Linked DNA regions of Homo sapiens: regions 2 and 3 are each linked to region 1. The links are contacts of gene promoters, found by promoter capture Hi-C in blood cells and fetal thymus (Javierre and others, 2016). All regions are on one chromosome and are shown on one strand. The core of a region is centred on a gene start or on the middle of the fragment in contact, and the rest is flanking DNA. Distances in the headings are between cores, read along the strand shown.

Region 1 (3,482 bases), core at 234-2,733:
GTGGTGATGAAAATTAAATGAGCTATTAATATACTAAAGTTCTTAGTTGTTATTAATACCATTTAATTTTCCCCTTCTGGAGGTTAGAAAGGGGTTTTATTCATTATGGTACTTCTCATAGTATACAGTATAATGCCCTATACATGTGTTCAATAACTAACGTTGAAAGAATAAGCACTTTTATATATTTTCAACAGTAATTACTTTAAAAACTTAAGAAGAACTAACCTTCAACAAAATGTGATCCTTCAGTAACAAACTCCAGTAACTGGTCAAAGATTGCAGTAATCGCCTTCTTAGCCAGCACAAAGTGCTTCAGTGGAGAAACAGGTTCTGCCATTATGCTACTAGAGGGAGATAAAGTTAGAAAAGCACCAACTAAAGTGGATGATAGACATGCAAACTGATGACACACCAGTGACATTCATCAACTCCCCAATGAAATAAATTATGCTGGCAAAATGTTTTTAGGTAATTCTTTTTTGGGAGTGTTCTAGTCAGACAGTTAGAGACGACTTTTGAATGATATTTCACTAAAATAAGTGAAATCTATTAGCCAAAATCTTGGTTGCAATTTCTACTCAATTTCCCTTTGGTGAAGACGAAACTAATTGTGACTAAGTTTGTCACTGCATGTGACTCTAAAGTACATCAGGGAACAGGGTTAGTGAGGCGAAGCCAAATTCACACACAATAAGGAAGTTACTAAGTTTCTCAACCTGAAGCTCTAGGTGAGTAGGAGTGGATATGCAGAGTGAGGAAATAAAATTCTAAGATCACAATGTGAGGCTGACATTTAGAAAGGTAAGGCTTCAAGAGGGCATTAACGCTTCCAGCCAAAGTACCAGAAACTTCAAGGACTATAAGTTTAAGAAAGCATAGGTGGTTTCTCAAGAAAAAGACACCAAAGACAAACAATCACGGTCTAATCCTGGTGTGTACATGGAAAGGAACAGTGGCCATAAAGAAGGCGGATTCTTCCAGAGAGTCAAGAAATGACCGCGCGAAGGAGCTGCGTGGGAAAAGCCGGGTGGGGGTAACGCCCCGGTCCGGCCGGTGTGAACACCTGCCTTAGAAAAGGCCTCCCACCTTCCCACACCGGGCGCAGGAGTCAGGGCCAGAGCCCACCCCCGCCCCGCGCACGACCGTCTAGGTCCGGATCCCCCAATCCCACCCCCGAGCACGGCCTCGTGGGCTCCGTGGGCTCGACTCGGCCGCCAGCCCCGTTCGCCCGACAGCTGGCTCTCTCCTTTCCCACAGGACCGCGGCGGGCGGCGCCTCGTCACACAACGCTGCATGCACGACTCCCGCCCCCGGTCCCCAGTCGCTCGAAGGTCACTCCGAGCGTCGCAAACGTGCTGTCGAGGCAGCCGGCACTCACAGTCTCCGCTCCAACTATCACCCGGCAACAGCAACTCGGCCACAGATGCCAAACTGCCTCATCTTCCCGAGAAGTTAAAGGCGGAGAGGAGGCAGGGGGAGTGGCAAAGGGCGGTCACTTCCGGCCTCTTGCCTCCTCTGTTCTGTTTGGCTCCGTGGCCGGAAGCGCATCTATGCCAGGCGCCATTTTCCTTAAGGGCAGAAGGCAAGGTTTGTTGTGGGCAGAGACTGCTACCAGGAGAGTGGTTTTCCGTTCCCCCTTCCAACTTCTTCCCCTCCCTTCTCCCCTCAAAGTGTCCAAGTATCTGCCCAGCCTAGGCTTAGCTAGCTTCCAATGATGGTGGTGGCTGACGCCTATAATCCCAGCACTTTGGGAGACCGAAGGGGTGGGATATCTCTTAAGCCCAGGAGTTCGAGACTAGGCTGGGCAACATAGGGAGGCGCCCCCCCCCCCGCCCCCGACCCTCTTCCTCCTCCCCGTCTCTACAAAATTAAAAAATGAAAAATTAAAAAAATTTTAAAAACTTAGCGAGGCGTGGTGGCACACACCTGTGGTCCCAGCTACTTCGGAGACTGAGGCGGGGGGATTGTTTGGGCCCGGGGCTGCAGCGAACTGTGATTTATCGTGCCACTGCACTCCAGCCTGGGCAAGAGAGCGAGACATTTTTTCAAATAAATAAATAAATAAATAAAAGAAAAGAAATCCAGATCGTATTACTTTCCGAACTTAAAAAGCTTTCCAGGCCGGGCGGGGTGGCTCACGCCTGTAATCCCAGCACTTTGGGAGGCCGAGGCGGGCGGATCACAAGGTCAGGAGATCGGGAGCATCCTGGCTAACACGGTGAACGCCCGTCTCTACTAAAAATACAAGAAGTAGCCGGGCGTGGTGGTGGCGGGCGCCTGTAGTTCCAGCTACTCAGGAGCCTGAGGCAGAGAATTGCTTGAACCCGGGAGGCGGAGGTTACAGTGAGCCGAGATCGCGCCACTGCACTCCAGCCTGGGCGACAGAGCCAGACTCCATCTCAAAAAAAAAAAAAAAAAAAAAAAAAAAAAAAAAAAAGCTTTCCAACAGCTTGCCATTATACTTAAAATTAAAGCTTCGGATGGTAACCGCCCAAGGAAAGCCTTCACCTTGCCCGCTGACTAGCCAGAACTGATACAAGACAGGGGGATTGCAAATAAAGACTTAGTCACGCAAAGCCGGCTGTATGGGAGACTGGAGTTTTATTATTACTGAAATCAGTCTCCCCGAGCAGCACTGGGGAGCAGAATTTTTAAGGACAATTTGGTGGGTTGGGGGAGGCCACTGAGCCAGGAGTGCTGATTGGTCAGGGATGAAATCGCAGGGAGTGGAAGCTGTCTTTCTGCACGAGTCAGTTCCTGGGTTGGGGGACACTAGGTCAGATGAGCCAGTTTATCGGTCTGGGTCGTGCCAGCTAATCCATCAGTTCTGAGCATAGGTAGTCTCAAAGGGAACATTTACTCTGTTTGAATTTTAAAAATCATGATGGTATCCTTTTATTAGTTCTGTACTTAATAATTATATTTAATATAATTACTGCATTTTAAAGCAAGAGTGACATATTACAGGCTATAAATTATAGCACGGTAATTAAATGTTTAATATAGTAAGTAATAAGAAATTTAATCCATTGCTTTTGTGTGTGTGTGGAACACACATATTACCAAAAAGCCAGGAGAGTAAACACAAAGAAGGAAAAGAATTAAAATATAAACGCTAAAACCAACATAGATATTAACAAAAACTAACGTTATTTGAAAGAAATTATCAATTTGATGTATCACTGCCAAATCTGTTCAAGAACATAAAAAATGAAAGGACACAAATTAAGGGGAGAATAACTATAGATATATATATAAATGCCAACAAATTGAAAAGCTTAGATGAAGTATAAAATCTGGGAAAACATCAAATACCAAAATTAGACCGAGAAAAAATAGAAAACTCGAATAGGCTAAGTTTCCCACATATTCAAAACTAGCCAGGTCTAGATGATTTTCGGGGTAACTTTCTATTACATGTTTAACGAAAAGATTAATCTTGCCGGGTGCGATGGCTCACGCCTGTAATCCCAGCAGTT
Region 2 (3,616 bases), core at 819-3,318, 210 kb before region 1:
ATCATTTGTTTGTTCATTCATTTGTAATATCAGGTTGGCTTGGAATCTCTTGATGTCCCATTGGAACCACGGCTTCATTTAATAATAAGCCATTGAAATGAATTTCAAAGGAAATAAACTTCACATTACATCTGATGTTTCAGGACAAATCACATGTTGACACAGATAAAAGTGCACACTTGTGAATCCTTTGATAAATTTTAATCAATAAAAAATGTAATAGGACACTAAGACTATTGGCCCTGAAATATTGAATTGCTGGAGCATGAGATTGTTCAGAAAGAAAACCTATTCAGCCTTCTAAAAGAACTATGTCGGTGGATGGGCATCCTCCATATTAATGACGTTATTTCCTTTGACTTAACAGTATGGCTGTTTTCTATTCTTTTTTTTTTTTTTTTTTTTTTTTTTTTTGTAAAACAGAGTCTCGCTCTATAGCCCAGGCTGGAGTGCAGTGGCATGGTCTTGGCTCACTGCAACCTCCATCTCCCAGGTTGAAGTGATTCTCCTGCCTCAGCCTCCCCAGTAGTTGGGACTACAGGCATGTGCCACCATGCCCAGCTAATTTTTGTATTTTTAGTAGAGAAGGAGTTTCACCATGTTGGCCAGGCTGGTCTTGAACTCCTGGCCTCAAGAGATCCACCTGCCTCGGCCTCCCAATCTTCAATTCTTAGGAAAACTAGTTGAAAGTACATTAAAACAAAAGTACTAACCCAGCAAAATCTGCTTTATGAAATATAAAATATATGAGGGTTGGGGTTTTTTGAGTAGTGATATTTCTCCCCTGTTGTCTAACATGTTTTCTCTAAAGTCTTGGCTCAGCCTATATTAATGTTGTCAATAACTAGTCAGATTAAACTGCAACAACTCAAGGTTATTGTCTGTTATTTCAGTTCTCAAAGGCACAGCATATCAAAACTATCAATGCTTGCAATTTTCCCCCTGAACCAATATATCAGGTATGTCAACCTAAAAACAAAAGATGTTGAAGTAACAGGTATATAAATTTATCTAGCCCAGAGTAGGTGCTCAGTGGTTGATTCCGAATCCAGTTTACAAAAATAAAGAGGCTTTCAAAAATCATTTGTAATATCCAAGCATCAAGAATTTCTTCTGTGGCCCCAGGTGCAACAATTGGCTTTGCCACATTGGGTCGCTGGTCGTCCATTCTTGTAATGATCCACCAGGACTTGTGATGCTGGATCCTCTCTACTTTCTTCACCAGCCCTGTCAGCACTCAGGTTATGGAATTTCAGCAGTCATTACAAAATGTTACATATCTTATCCTCTGTCTCAGCTTTTATTAAGTTCAGCATTGAAAAAAAAATGCAACTGCTGTTTATGCAAGCTAGGAAACAAATTCAGAAAATTATCATCCGTCAGGAAGAAATGACACAAAAATTTATGTACATTTAGAATTATTTTGTTTCATGCTGCAAAATATATAAAGTTGGCAGTAGTAAAAAGCAATTTTCAAAATAGACATTTTTGTGTGTATGAGGAGTCATTGTAAGCACCATCCTTTGCGTACTGAAGTTCCAAATGTATAACACTCATCCAAGCACTACTGAGATAAAAGATAAATACCTGGTATCATATATAGGGTTTTTCAACAATAGAAATATGATTGGTAAGATTCATACATGTTTGCCATCAGAATAGTAAGAGATCTATCCATTTCAATAATGTAACCTAGATCTATAAAGAAGCAAATAAAAGTATGTTTGGTCACAGCTGGTAACTTTATAACACACTAATAGGTTTGCTATGGTATTAACAATGGTCCTGAACAGACAAGAAAGTAAAGAAAAAAAGATGAGATGCTAAATTCTCGGTGAGTTGTACGAGTCTATATTGTTATTTCATTATCTTTAAAAAAAAAAAAAAACCTCTTCTTTGTTCATTCAATATAGCTTTTGGGGAAAATCACCATGTGAGTTAGCAATGCCAACATTTAATCAACTGGTGCTGTAAAGTGACACTGTGTCACTTGGGGCCACTTTTGGGCAAATCAGGGCTTCTCATTGATCTAGGTCAGTAGCAACACCATGTTGTAAGGCTGTTACACAGCTCGAGGAGCAATACTCTCCTGAGTCCAAGGTTCTTGCTAAGGATGGCTTCTTTGGAACACTTGAAACTGCTTTGGAATAGAAAGGATTTCATCGGCCACACGATAATAATGACCACAAATTACTGAACTTTATGTGCTATCATAGGAAAGACGCTTTATATACAATATTTTCCATTAATCGACTTATCCTTCTGAGGGTTTTGGCAGAAGAGGCCCAGAGATTTACCAGCTTGCCCAACATCACAAAGCTATTGAGAGTCAGGATTTGAAACTAGAGTTGTCTGAACCTACTGAGTATGCTGTTTCTACTTCAAGATAGCTTTCTCTTTCCACTTCCATGCTTCTAGTAAACTTGAAAAACAATCATTTCAATTATATATAATATATAATAATATAATCTGTATATATTATATATGTATATACACAGACATGTATGTAAATCTAAAGGTATAAAAAGATACAGAGAACTAAGTCTTCCCTTTTACCTGTATCCCTAGCCGTCTCCTCTTCAGGGTGGTTCTATGCTTATACAACTGATTATGTAGATATATTCCCCCTTCTCTATTTTTTCTGATCCAAATGTAACTCACAATACACTAGGGATCTTTAAGAAGCATTCTCGGGCCGGGCGCGGTGGCTCACGCCTGTAATCCCAGCAGTTTGGGAGGCCGAGGCGGGTGGATCACGAGGTCAGGAGATCGAGACCATCCTGGCTAACACGGTGAAACCCCGTCTCTACTAAAAATATAAAAAATTAGCCGGGCGTGGTGGCGGGCGCCTGTAGTCCCAGCTACGCGGGAGGCTGAGGCAGGAGAATGGCGTGAACCCGGGAGGCGGAGCTTGCACTGAGCCAAGATCACGCCACTGCACTCCAGCCTGGGCGACAGAGCAAGACTCCGTCTCAAAAAAAAAAAAAAAAAAGCATTCTCGGCTGGGCACAGTGACTCACACCTGTAATCCCAGCACTTTGGAAGGCCCTGGTGGGAGAACTGCTTGAGCCCAGGAGTTCAAGGCCAGCCTGGGCAGCACAGTGAGACCCCTGTCTCTACAAAAAGTAATAAAAAAAATTAGCCAGGCTGGTGGTGTATGCATGTAGTCCCAGCTATTTAAGAGGCTGAGGTGTGAGGATTACTTGAAGCTGGGAGGTCCAGGGTGCAGTGAGCCATGATCGCATCACTGCACTCCAGCCTAGGATACAGAGAGAAACGCTGTCTCAAAAAAAAAAAAAAAAAGCATTATTCTTTTTGGAAATCAATTTTAAAATATTTACTTTGGACATTTTTATTTTAATAATTTTAAATGGTATACATACGGCTAGAAACTGAAATGACACAACAGTGAAAAACAAAGCTCCCTTTCTCCTCTTTCAATCCTCCCAATTCCTCAGTTCCTCTCCCCAAATTGAACTACTGTTACCAGTTTCTTATGTAACCTTCCAGAGATAGTCTTTTCAAATAGAAACATATATTTATATTCCTTCCCCCCATTATTGTTATTTACATAACTGAACAAGTGATTTTGTACTTGACTTTGTTTACTTAACAG
Region 3 (3,391 bases), core at 508-3,007, 240 kb after region 1:
TGATGCTCCTATCAAAAAACTTTTGCCTGATAACCCTCTTCTTGCATATGGGCTAGATTAGTAACTTGCTTCTAATGAATTTTAGAAAAAGAGCAAGCGATGGTGTGTGACTTTGGGGACTAGATTATAAAGGACATTGTGGCTTTCTGATTGCTTTTTCTCTTGATTACTTGCTGTAACTATGTCATGAGAACCCACCAGAATCTTATGGAGAGGTCTGTGTAGCTAAACTGAGATATCTTACCAGCAGCCATGTAATGAATCATCTTAAAGAGGGTCCTCCAAATCTTCAGAAAACTGCAGCCCCAGATGACAGCTTGACTGCAGTTTTATGAGAGACTCTGATTCCAAACCATTTAGCTAGGTTGCTCCCAGATTCTTGACTCACAGAAACTATGTGAGATAATACTTGTTGTAAGCTGCTAAGTTTTGAAGTAATTTGTCATGCAGCAATAGATAACTAACATACTTTGCCTCTGAGTGTTCTTATAGCATCCTGCTCTTGTTTCACAGATATCCTATTGTCTATTATTTCACAGGACATGAATAGTCATTATTTGTGTATTTTAAGTTTTCATTTGCTCACTGCGTTGTCTAATTCTTTTGGATTTCATTTTTTTTTTTTTTATATTAAGGATAGCTGACAAAAAGCCAAAAAGATGGAAGGGGATACAGATTCTGGGAGTGAGGTGTGGGGAGAGGAGGCAAACAAATGTCCAAGTCAGCTACGAAAATCAAGAAAAATAAAGCAGAGTAAATGATAAATATCCTATAAAGAGATAATTATGTATATACTCCAGAGCAGGGGACCTCAACCCCTGGTACCAGTCTGTGGCCTGTTAAGAACCAGGCCACACAGCAGGAAGCGAGTGGTGGGTAAGCAAGCAAAGCTTCATGTGTATTTGCAGCTACTCCCTATTGCTCATATTAACACCTGACCTCTGCCTCCTGTCAGATCAGTGGTGGCATTAGATTCTCATATGAGTGCAAACCCTACTGTGAATTCTGCATGCGAGGGATCTAGGTTGCACTGCCTTATGAGATTCTAATGCCTGATGGTCTGTCACTATCTCCCATCACCCCCAGTTGGGACTGTCTAGTTGCAGGAAAACAAGCTCAAGGTTCCCACTGATTCTACATTATGGCGAGTTGTATAATTATTTCATTATATATTACAATGAAATAATAATAGAAATAAAGTGCACAATAAATGTAATACACTTGAATCATTCCAAAATCACCCCTACCCCAGTCTGTGGAAAAATTGTCTCCCACAAAACCTGTCCCTGGTGTCAAAAAGGTTGGGAACTGCTGTTCTAGAGGTTTGCTTTGCTCACTTATAAATCATGGGAAGCATTAAACATAGTCTGTCAACCTGATTTAATCAACTATCATTGGCACTCAAATTTCTTTCTTTCCTTTTTTTTTTTTTTTTTTTTTGAGACGGAGTCTCGCTCTGTCGCCCACGCTGGAGGGCAGTAGCATGATCTCGGCTCACCGCAACCTCCACTTCCGGCTCAAGCGATTCTCCCACCTCAGCCCACGCAGTAGCTGGGATTACAGGTGTACACCACCACACCTGGCTAATTTTTTGTATTTTTAGTAGAGGCAGAGTCTCACCATGTTGGCCAGGCAGGTCTCGAACTCCTGGTCTCAAGTGATCCACCCGCCTCAGCCTCCCAAAGTGCTGGGATTACAGGCGTGAACCACTACACCCGGCCTCAAATTTCTTAATTCACATAATCTTTGACAAATATTTCTAATCTAATGTAAGTTAGAAGTACTCAGTGGTGATTCTATACTGTTTCACTTGAATTCTCCTGTCCTAAAGCTGTGTGATGGATAAACCAAGACGTTACAAGAGTGTATTTAGAAAACCTACATATTATTTATCTAACAAGTGGACTGAATGTGGAATTAGTTGAAGGGTAGTTTTCAGACAAAGATAAAGGTCAATAGACTCTTTGTAAACCCCATCACCTACTGTCTGTGTCCTTGAGTAAGTTTCTTAAACTTTAAGAGCCTCTTTTGTAAAATGGGGTTATTTATATATCTACCATAAGGTTGTTATAACAATTTAATGAGATAAAGTACTTAGCATAGTGCATGGAACATTGTTAGCCTTTTTTTTTTGTCTTCTTCTCCTTCTAACTTCTCTTCTCCCCACTATTCTCTTCCTTATGCTACCTCTCTCTCTCTCTTTTTTTTTTTTTGCTTCTCCTCTACTTTATACTTCTCCGTAGTATTAGTATTACATAACAATGAGTTATCATGAATTTTGGATCTGTCTTGGAAGGGCTTCTGACTTATTGACAAGTTTTCTTTTCTTTTCTTTTCCTTTCCTTTTCTTTTCCTTTCTTTCTTTCTTTTCTTTCTTGACAGGTTCTTGCTCTGTCACCCAGGCTGGAGTGCACTGGTGTGATTATAGCTACTGCAGCCTTGACCTGCTGGGTTCAAGTGATCCTCCTGCCTTGGTCTCCTAAAGTGCTGGGATAACAGGCATGAGCCACTGTACCCAGCCTTTATTGGCCAGTTTCATAAGTCTTATCAATATGCTACCACACCAAAAGATATTGGTACCTACATTTATGAGTCATAATCAGACCTCAAACACAGAAGCTTGACTTTCTATAACACACCTAAATCACTGAACAAAATGTTACAGAAAGCCTACTCTGTGAGAGAAATGCTGGGTGGTGGCTATACCAAAATATGACATACTGCTGAAAGTCTAGGGGAGGAGGCAGTCAAATATGCTATTACATGGAACTATCACTAATATAGGCATTTTCAGAACGTTATGGGAGCACTGATATGCTTATGATGGTCACTGAAGGCTTGGCAAAAAAGAAAGAACTTGAAAGGGATGGTGTCTGTGTTTGTGGTTTTGTGTGTGTGTGTGTGTGTGTATAAGGTTGGGCATCTTTCCACATGTGAGAAATAACATATGCAAACTACAGAGATATGAGAGTGTATTATTATGATTGGAGACTAGTAAGTAGCTGAGTGTAAAATCTGAGGACTTGCTATGTATCAAAGTTGTGTGGGAAAACATGGAGTCTTCAAAGACAAAAATACAGTTTTTGCCTGTACAAAAGCAACAAATTAAGTCCGTACTTGCTATCGGAGAATTATAAAATCAGCAGAAGAAATACTCTCATAGCACTTCGTTATAGTCTTTGTTTAATAATCTATCAATGTTTAATTTATTGTCAATGTATTTGTTACTTAATCTGTCAATGCATTTAATAATCTATCAATGTTTATTGGATAAAGAAATAATTAATGACAAATCTTGAAAAATGTTCAAGAGTCAGTGAAGATGAAGCTTTATTTCTCTTTCCCAGATATTACTATTGCCTCTACTCACTCCAGTGTTTCAATATTTATG

What was found. Contacts are between HindIII fragments. The CHiCAGO score rates a contact against its expected background, and 5 or more counts as called.
Region 2: a fragment that was not itself captured here is called in contact with the fragment with the promoter of MFN1 in region 1 in 3 of 17 cell types (neutrophils, naive B cells and monocytes); the score reaches 8.8 in neutrophils.
Region 3: a contact is called between a fragment that was not itself captured here and the fragment with the promoter of MFN1 in region 1, in 1 of 17 cell types (total B cells). The highest score is 5.6, in total B cells.

What each region holds. Positions count from the first base shown.
Region 1 is chr3:179,345,710-179,349,191 of GRCh38, reverse strand. It overlaps MFN1 (mitofusin 1), which reads right to left and starts at 1,483. Exons shown (of 18, transcript NM_033540.3): 1 at 1,382-1,483; 2 at 229-347. The coding sequence starts at 340. RefSeq lists enhancers at 692-911, 1,245-1,774 and a silencer at 1,032-1,191. The HindIII fragment of the contact is 3,693 bases long and covers 1-2,117 here.
Region 2 is chr3:179,556,500-179,560,115 of GRCh38, reverse strand. No RefSeq gene overlaps it. Among named protein-coding and RNA genes, the nearest start is that of ACTL6A, 4.6 kb to the left of the region's middle. RefSeq lists a silencer at 1,021-1,315. The HindIII fragment of the contact is 6,108 bases long and covers 1-3,616 here.
Region 3 is chr3:179,105,321-179,108,711 of GRCh38, reverse strand. The region is part of intron 2 of PIK3CA-DT (PIK3CA divergent transcript); the gene reads left to right. Among named protein-coding and RNA genes, the nearest start is that of ZMAT3, 35 kb to the right of the region's middle. The HindIII fragment of the contact is 1,729 bases long and covers 893-2,621 here.